2 separate regions of the Homo sapiens genome follow, and region 1 is linked to region 2. Evidence: promoter capture Hi-C in human tissues and cell types (Jung and others, 2019). All regions are on one chromosome and are shown on one strand. The core of a region is centred on a gene start or on the middle of the fragment in contact, and the rest is flanking DNA. Distances in the headings are between cores, read along the strand shown. Region 1 holds the start of EPB42 (erythrocyte membrane protein band 4.2). Region 2 overlaps STARD9 (StAR related lipid transfer domain containing 9).

Region 1 (4,707 bases), core at 889-3,388, 530 kb before region 2:
TTAGTAGACATGGGGTTTCACCAAGTTGGCCAGGCTGGTCTCAAACTCCTGACCTCGTGATCCACCCGCCTCGGCCTCCCAAAGTTCTGGGATTACAGGTGTGAGCCACCGTGCCCCATCTGCATATCTTTTAACATTGTGAATATTTCCATTTAAAAATTTTTAAGGAATCAAATTTCTCAGTATTTTCTTTTTGTCTTCTGAGTTTTGCATAATATTTTTAAAGGTTTTCCCAAGTTAACTTAAGAAGAAGTGTCTCATTTTTTCTTCTATTACTTTAAGAATTTAATAAGAGTTTTGATCCATCTGAAATTTATTTTGATGTGTGGCATAAGATAGGAAGCCAACTGTATTTTGACAAGCTAGTTGTCCCAAAATCATTTACTGATAAATCCTTCATTTCCCCATGGATTTGAAGTGCCACATTTAGCATACATTTAATACATGTATTTTGATCTATGGACTTTTCAATTACAGTAATATCATATTATGTGTTCATATCTAGGAAGGCTGGTCACACTTTATTATTATCTTAGAAATTTCCTTTTGAACCTTAGAATCAGTTTACCTAGTTTCAAAAAACAATCTTGGTGTTTTTATTGGGAATGAATTAAACTTAAGATCAACTTGGGAAGAAATGACCGCTTTATAAAGTTGAGTTGTCCTACACAGGATGGTGATCTTCCTTTTTATCTGCTCAAGTCTTATTTGGTGTCCCTCCATACCGTTTCCAAGTGTTTTACTGACAGCACTTCACATTTCTTAAGTTTATTTCTAGAAATTTCACCTTTTGTTGTTGTTGCTATTATAGGTTGGGTCTTTAATTACAGTTTCTGACTTGTTATTGATTGCAGGTATGAAAACTATTGGCTTCTATACTTTTGGTATTAGCCAGCTCACTAAATTACCTTTTATAATCATTGTTAGTAGATTCAAGTTTTCCAGGTAAAAAATGACATCTTCAAATAATGAAAAATTAACTTCTTCATTTCTTATGAAGGATTTTTTTTTTTTTTTCTGAGATGGAGTCTTGCTCCATGCTGGCTGTGCAGTGGCACGATCTTGGCTCACTGCAACCTCAGCCTCCCAGGTTCAAGCAATTCTTCTGCCTTAGCCTCCTGAGTAGCTGGGAGTACAGGCGCCTGCCACCACGCCCAGCTAATTTTTGTATTTTTAGTAGAGAGAGGGTTTCACCATATTGGCCAGGCTGGTCTCGAACTCCTGACCTCAGGTGATCCGCCTGACTTGGCTTCCCAAAGTGCTGGGATTACAGGCATGAGCCACTGCGCTAGTGAAAGGCAGAAGTTTCATTTTTTTTTTTTTTTTTTTTTTTTACATAATAAGATCCTTCAAATGAGTTCAAAAGTTCAAAGTTTTAAAAGTATAAAAGAGTAAACAGCAGAAAGATAACCTTTCTACCCCACTGCCCAGATCCCCTCCCCACAGGCAACCAATATTTTTGGCAGTGTGTTTTATATCATTCTATAGACGTCTCATGTATATGCAGCAAGTACAGCTGCCCTGAAAGTGCTTCTGGTAACACAGTTTCACAAGCCCAGGTAGGGCCAAATATGAGATCCTTCTCTTGTCTCTTCAGGAACTAAAGAAAGAAAAATTGAAAAGACATAGGGCCTGAGTCCCAAGATAGTTCCCAACCTTCTCTGGTAGAGGGTCCCAGACCAGGTAGGCTTGGAAGAGTTGGGGCCCCAGCTTCTACTTTTAATACATTTATTTTTCACCAACAAATTCTACTTCCTTATCTTTTTCACACAGATAAATTGCAGATGCACGTGTTCTCTCTATTATCAAAACAGCCCATGAACATCTTGCAACTTGCAGCCCCTGTCACGTTTAGGGCCTGAGATTTGGAGTTGGATATGGGACTCCTGTTTGTGGCCTCCTCTCTTCCAGAGTCTTCCAGTGCAGTCCAGATAACATCTCTGAGAGTCTCTTGAGACCACTGAAGCAAGAGGCTTCAAGGTTTGTTCTAGGCTTCTCTAGTTGGCAGGTCTTCCCCATCCCACCCCCTCCCCCAGGGCTGCCAGGCGTATTCCTGCCTGGGCCTCCTGGCACAAGAGATAAAATGAACAGGGTTACTCCCAGTAACTGGTCCAGGAGATACCAGCAGAGAGGGAGTAGGAGAGAAGAAACATGTCAGGGTGCTCACAGGAGTAGTGGGGGGAGGTTTTGCTATTTCCAGATTCTTAAGCCAACAAAAGTGCCTTCATATTTTCTGTCTGGAAGACAGAAAGCCCAGAAGGAGCCCAGAAGCAACAGTTTGAGAGAGGCGCTTTCTGCGGCCAAGTGGATAAGAGGAGCGGCCTGCAACCATGGGACAGGGTGAGCCAAGCCAGCGCTCGACAGGGCTTGCTGGACTGTATGCAGCCCCCGCAGCATCACCTGTTTTCATTAAAGGAAGTGGGATGGATGGTAGGCGGGGAGATGGTGGTATAACTATGGTGGGGGAGGGGGTACTGGTGATAATGAGGTGGCTGTGGGGGGGGGGTGTGGTAGGTGGGTGCTGGTAGAGGTGATAGTGAGCTGGCTGTGGAGCGTGGTGTGATGATGGGTGCTGGTGGAGGCGGAGGCGGAGGTGATGGTGATGTTGCTGTGGGGTGGTTATGGGGTAGCATGTTGGGGTAAACTGGTCATGATAGTTGTATGATGGTGAGATGGTGATGGTGGTTAACATGGATTTATATTCTTATCCCAAGGTCATCATAGCATAAGTGTTCACAGCTTACTGATACAAATGAGAGACACCCTGGGTAGCATGAAGGTGTCACAGCTTCTACACCAAATGGGAGAGAAGGAGAGGAGGGAGTCAGGGAATCCACCTAAAAGGGGCAGAGGCAGACACAAAGCAAGAAACCAACACAGGTGGTCAGAGTCGCAGCACTCTTGGCAGGAATTATTATATCCTGGCCTGGGAATTGCCTGGCTGTTTTGTGTCCTGGGAGAAGCAAGCGGGTAGGCAGAGGGAAATGGTGCAGAGGTGTGGGGACAGTGGGGTGCAGCTGTGGTTCTGTTGCTATAGAAACTGCCTCACTCCCCTGCCCTGGTTGGTCTGGTGTGCGGAGGGCAACTGACGCTGAGACCAACAGCTGAGAAGGGAAGAAAAAGAACTCTGGGTGAATTAAGTCAATAATCTCAGCCACGTCTTGTGAAAATAGGGCAGACACCAATAAATTGTCCTTTTTTTTTTTTTTTTTAAACGGAGTCTCTCTCTGTCACCAGGCTAGAGTTCAGTGGCGCAATCTCGGCTCACTGCAACCTCCGCCTCCTGGGTTCAAGTGATTCTCCTGCCTCAGCCTTCTGAGTAGCTGGGACTACAGGCACCCACCACCATGCCCGGCTAATTTTTTGTATTTTTAGTAGAGACGGAGTTTCACCTTGTTGGCCAGGATGGTCTCGATCTCTTGACCTCGTGATCCTCCGCCTCGGCCTCCCAAAGTTCTGGGATTACAGGCGTGAGCCACTGCGCCTGGCCAAATCGTTCTTTTTATTCTGTAGAGACCAGACAAATTAAAATCTACTCAATCAGAGAAACACAAAGATATCAGGAGATTGTTTAGTCTAGTCCCAAACCAGAGGATGCCCCTGGGCACTAAATTCTTTCCAGGCAGTGGGTGGCAGAGGGCCCAGTAGCCACCAGATGAGAATCACTGAGTATGAACTCATGACATGCTGCAGTGGCTGGAGCTGGCTTGTGCTGACTTGCAAGAGCCAATTGCTAAATTTTGAGGAACCTTGTGAACCAGTTCTTAAACACAGGCATTATTAAAAATTAAATTGTATAAACTTACAAGTAAAAAATTTATATTAAAAAGAAAGATAATAAGTACTCTAAACTCATCACTTCCTACGTATTTTACTCCTTTTTACCTTTATGTTCTTGAGGGCGTTTATGTCTCCTGTATCTCTGTGCTGGAAAAACCACATGATGATGTGCCAGTCCGCGCCTCTTCACAGCTCTGCGCTTGCTGACATCACCTCAGTAGCTTCAGACTGGCCACAGGGGGCGTAGTTTACACAACAGAACTTGGCAAATGCTGTAACTCAGTACGCCCTTTCCCCTCACCGCCCCCTCCCCCCAGCCAGTCGTTAAACACAGAACTGCTTGAGGGGCACATCTGAGGCAGCTCTGGGGTATTGTGAAAGGCAGAGAGGGAGGAGGGTGGGGTATTGTGCACCTCTGAAGAGCATTCCACATGATCTCCGGGTTAACACAACTTCTCATGGGCTGTGGTACAAATAGGAGATGGTGAGAAAACACGAAGGTATCATTGCCTCAAGACCCAGTGGGAGAGAAGGGGAGGCAGGAGTCAATGAATCCACCTAAAAGGGGCAGAGGCAGAGATAAACCAAGAAACCAGGCAGACCTAAAGAATGCAGAAACCTCAGGGGCCCTGCGAGGGTCTGGCAGCACAGGTGGGGGCCTGAGGCCCCTGTGATGTATCTGAGAAAATCTCCTTTAAGGCCGTCTCAATGTTCTCATCCATTCATTGACGGAGCAAACACTGATTGGCTATCTATTGAGTTCTGCTGGGACAGAGGATGCAGATATGAGAAAGCACTGTATCTTGGGGAGCTCACAGTGAAAAGGGGAGCAGAGGACTAAGCAGGTGATGGGTATCAAATGGGATAAGTGCTGAAGAAAGTGGAGCAGAGTACTGTGGGAGTCCAGAGGACTGACCTCTGCCAGGA
Region 2 (4,241 bases), core at 1,634-4,133:
TGCTCCCCATACTCCCCTCCCCCAACAGAGCCTGCTCCCAGCAGGGTTCTCGGTCCACACTACCTGGTGGTCTCCACAACATCCTTCCTCAGTTGCTGCAGGTATTCTCGGCGTCTGCTGGGCAAGTCAAGATCCCAGATGAAGAGATCTTTGTTGGGCAGGAGGCTCAGTTGTTTCTGAGGGCTAAGGCTTCGCGTCCGGCAGAAGTTCCCAAGTCGCTCAGCCCGCTCTCTCCTGAGGGTCTCAATGGCCTTTTTTTGCCTGAGGCAAAACACGATTCGCTGAAGCTGGCCCTGAATGTCCTTCACTTTAAGATCTATCTCTGACCCCTGGAAGATCCCAGAGATGAACCAGGGCAGAGGAAACAGCAAGCTATTAGCTTTCTTGGGTTCTCTTTCCTCACAGCCCACCCCTTCCCCTCCCGACTCCAGGCTGGGGGTCCTTACCGTGCATAGAGCTCCTTCCAGGTGGATGTCACAGGTTCATCAGCAGCAAGCGCCTCCCCTGTCCCACTCTGCAGCACCTGGAGCAGGGCATCGGCCTCCCCAAAGCCATGGTGCAGTTTCGCTTCTGTGAGTTCCACGCTGAGTGAGAGGTTCTGGGCCCCAACTTGCAGGGGGATCTGCTCCCTCTTGGACCACTCAGAATCCTGGCTGTGGTCATTAGGAGGTTGTGGGGGACTCTGTTCCTGCTTTTCAGAGCTGAGATCACCGCTGGCCCCCAGCTCCTCCTCAGTCATGTCCAACCCCCCAGGTGAGCCCTTCTGAACCCCACACCAGTTACTAAATTTGTTATGCACCGGGAGGTCCCTCAGACTGTGGTGCTGGTGCTCAGGGGCCATGCACATCTGGCAACTGAAGCACAGTAACTCCTCAGGTTGGCAGGCCTGAGGGAGGCCCAAGGCAGAACCTCGGAGCCCTGCAGTATCAGTCAACTCAGAGACAGGGCAGGGGCTGAGGTGCTGGAGGCCTCCCCATGAAGAAGGTCGGTCCAGAGTGCGTTGTGGTTCCCCTGGAGATGCTGAACTCTCACCTCCATTTTCTGTCCTGCTCTGCCACTGACTTGGCTCCCTACCGCTCAGTGGGCAATGCTCCGGGGAAGCCACCTTCTCAGGCACAAAGCTGTTGCCCAGCCTTTGGCTCCTGTGCCTCAGTGGTGGTGGCAGCAGTCTGCTTTGGACCCCGATAGTTGTCCTGGGCTGAAGCTGCTGAGGGTGCTGCCCTAAGAAACTAAATTGGAGTTTTGGACTCTGCTGTGGGCTGTGTGGGGAGTGCAACTCAAGGAAGGATCTCCCATTACTCCTTTGTAAGGAACTTCTACCTCTCTGGGAGCCACCTAACTCGTCAGTGGTTTGGGAATAATTATCCATTGGAGTCCTTGGGGCATCAACAGGGTCTGGGCTGGAGTCAAGCTTCTGGTGGCCTTCAACAGGGTGAGTTGAAGGGGCTGAGAGGGTCAAAGAGCCTGGGGAAAGACCCGGCTCTTGGGTGCTGGCACTAAGAGTGAGGATTGGGGAGGAGGCCCTGTCCACGAACAAAGCACTTGTGGGGCCCAGCTTCTTCTGGACCCTGGAGTCCCCAGGATACTCGGAAGTACTGGGAAAGAGCCCTGGGGAATGAGGGGAGCTGGGACTGGGACTGCTGACAACTAAGCAATATGACTCCTCTGGCTGGGAGCTGGGAGGCAGGAAAGCATCAGAAACTGAGGGGCTCACAGAAGGAAGATGCTGCCCAACGGGGGCTTTCTGAAACCTCAAGTGGGATGAGGGTATTGAAGGGCTCTGGGGCTTGTAGGGAGTGCTTTCTTCCTGAAGATAGAGGAGCTGAGCCATTTTCTGTGCTGTTTCCTCTGCCTCTCTCTTCTGAGGTACCCCTGGCACATCTCCCTCTTCTTGAGACACAGTCGAGGTATCTGAGCCTAGCCCTTCAAGGATCACATTGGCTCCCTGAGGTTCAGCCTCTGAAGTCTGGAGGCACAGGGTGGGTAAGGTGAGGTCAGTCTGGCTGCCCTCATCCACAGTGGTCTGAGTAGAGCCATCCATCATCAGGGCCTGTGGGGCTTTATCTGGGATGTCCCTCTTGGTGTTCTGCTCCCTTCTGGCCACATCTGGCTGGGAGAGACTCCCAAGCAGCTCTGAGGTACTGTGCAGGAGCTGTGAGAGGTGGAGAGACAGATTGTGCATGCTGGTCCATGAGGCCAGATCAAAGGCTGATACTGCACTGGCTTCAGGCTGAGCAAAGGAGATGTCAGTGCTGCTCCAGTGGCGCCTGCTGCCGAGGGTCTGTGTGCCCTGTTCGAATGTGTTCGTCCTGGTCTGTCCCACAGGGCAGCCTGCCTCTGATGGATACAGCAGCATAATCTCATCCACTGGACCTGCAGCACTTCCTTTGGCCAAGGGGGGCTTACTCCTCAGACAGTCTGCTTCACCAGAAGGGCCCCTGAACTGAGGCCTTCTGTCATGACCCGAAGTGGGGGCTACTCCTTCAGGGCTCGTCGGGATGTGGGGGTCTCCTAAGGCAATTGAAGAACTCCCTCGGAATACTTCCCAGGCCTCATTTGAACCCTGGGCATTCTCAGTGCTGCTGTGTGTGGTTGACAGATCACAAATATTGGCGTAAGTGCTGAGGTGGGAGTGGAAAGGGGAGTTCTGGTCTTCTAGGCCATTGTCCATGCTGGAGCACCGGGCCACATTTGATAGTGTCAGCCCCTGGGGCTTCTGGCTGCAGGAAACATCGACTGCACTGCCAGACATATACTGCTTCCAGCTGATACGTGCAGGCTCCTCCGGACGCCACGGCAGCGCATAGGGACTGATGTCACTGGAGCCAAAGTGCAGCATTCCTTTGTCCATCTGAGAGCACCAATTTTCTGGCCTAACCTGGACACCCAGTTTCTCTCGCTTTCCCTGTTGGGCTTGTTCCAAAGTACCAGACATCCAGCTGGTCGTGAAATCAGGGGTTGGCATGTGTGAGAGAGTGGAAGGCATTGGATAAGGAGGGGTGGCAGGCTTCAGGTGCCTGTGATCGGTAGTCCCATCATCCAAGCGAGATGAGGCTTTCTGATTGCTGTCCTCAGCCTGCAGAGATGTTCTTGCCACTGACTTTCCTGAGGAATAGCCCCTGAGATGTGGGTTCCACAATCTGTTAGGCCCCTGTGTATCTTCGTCTGTAGGGGAAGGAGGCTCCACACTCAAGTTCAGCTCCTGAAGAGAACGAGAAGAGCCGACAACTGAGAACTGTGGTGTGGGGGAGGACCTGGAGTGTTTGGGGCCAGAGAAGATTGTAGTCACAGGAAGTGAGCCCCTGTGGTTGGGTGCTGGCTGCTCTCTGCCAGTGTAGAGGTGGCCACTCCTCTGAGCAGCAGGCTGCGGTGTTTCATTTTGCCTCAAGGACACAGTGGCTGGGTCTTTGAAGCCCTGTGATAAAATCTTGGACACAGGAGGCTTGGCCACAGCCACCTCCTCTCTCCCAGCATCTAAAATCTGACAGCCATCTAAGCCATCTTCATCAGGAAGGGGATTCACACCCTGGGCGAAGCCTTCTCCACCACCTGAAGCCTGGTCTCTGTGCTGCTCTTCTTCCTGCCAGGGACTGTCTTCCTGGGGGCTGCAGGTATGTTTTAACCTTGCTACAAACTTGGCTTGGGAATCCAAGCGATTGTGATCCCTCAACTCAGTGGAAAATTGTGGCTTTTCCAAAAAACATCTAGTGGTATTTTCTAAACATTCATGCTGTGGCTCTACCACCAACTTGCTCTCAGCAGACCCTTCACTTAAATCCAGGGTGTGTGGTCCCTGAGTTGTTGCAGGTGGTTCTGGATTGGTTTGACACACCTGTGCATTCTGGTCACCTACAGAGCTGTCCCTAAACTGCCTCAGGGGCTCAGAGTACATGCCTGCAGGGAAAGAGGCAGCCTCAAGTTCTGTGCTTGCTTGCTTCTCAGCAACCTTTTTCTCAGGAACCCCTATTAACCCCACGCTTCCATCAGTAGCTGAGTGGCTGAAGGAACCTGTCCTCACGTCAGGAGCAGAAGGGGATCTGCAGCCTTGAGCTCGAGATAGGACAGCAGCCACAGTAGAAGGCTCACAAGTGCTGCTCTCTGTTAGCCTAAATTCCCTGTTAACATCTTTGGGCTCAAGGCCATGTGTCAAGTGCACATCAGGTCCCCTAGAGATCTCTCCTGTCTCATCCATTTCATAGGCCCTGGAAGGTACTACACAGGGTGGGTGGATAGTATGTGGG

Evidence for each region. Contacts are between HindIII fragments. The study calls those that stand out against the background at their distance.
Region 1: the fragment with the promoter of EPB42 here is called in contact with a fragment that was not itself captured in region 2 in 1 of the 25 tissues and cell types used here (lymphoblastoid cells).

The regions. Positions count from the first base shown.
Region 1 is chr15:43,218,449-43,223,155 of GRCh38, reverse strand. It overlaps EPB42 (erythrocyte membrane protein band 4.2), which reads left to right and starts at 2,138. Exons shown (of 13, transcript NM_001114134.2): 1 at 2,138-2,340. The coding sequence starts at 2,331. The HindIII fragment of the contact is 9,374 bases long and covers 1-4,707 here.
Region 2 is chr15:42,690,548-42,694,788 of GRCh38, reverse strand. STARD9 (StAR related lipid transfer domain containing 9) reads right to left here. Exons shown (of 33, transcript NM_020759.3): 23 at 447-4,241; 24 at 64-261. Among named protein-coding and RNA genes, the nearest start is that of CDAN1, 44 kb to the left of the region's middle. The HindIII fragment of the contact is 5,901 bases long and covers 1-4,241 here.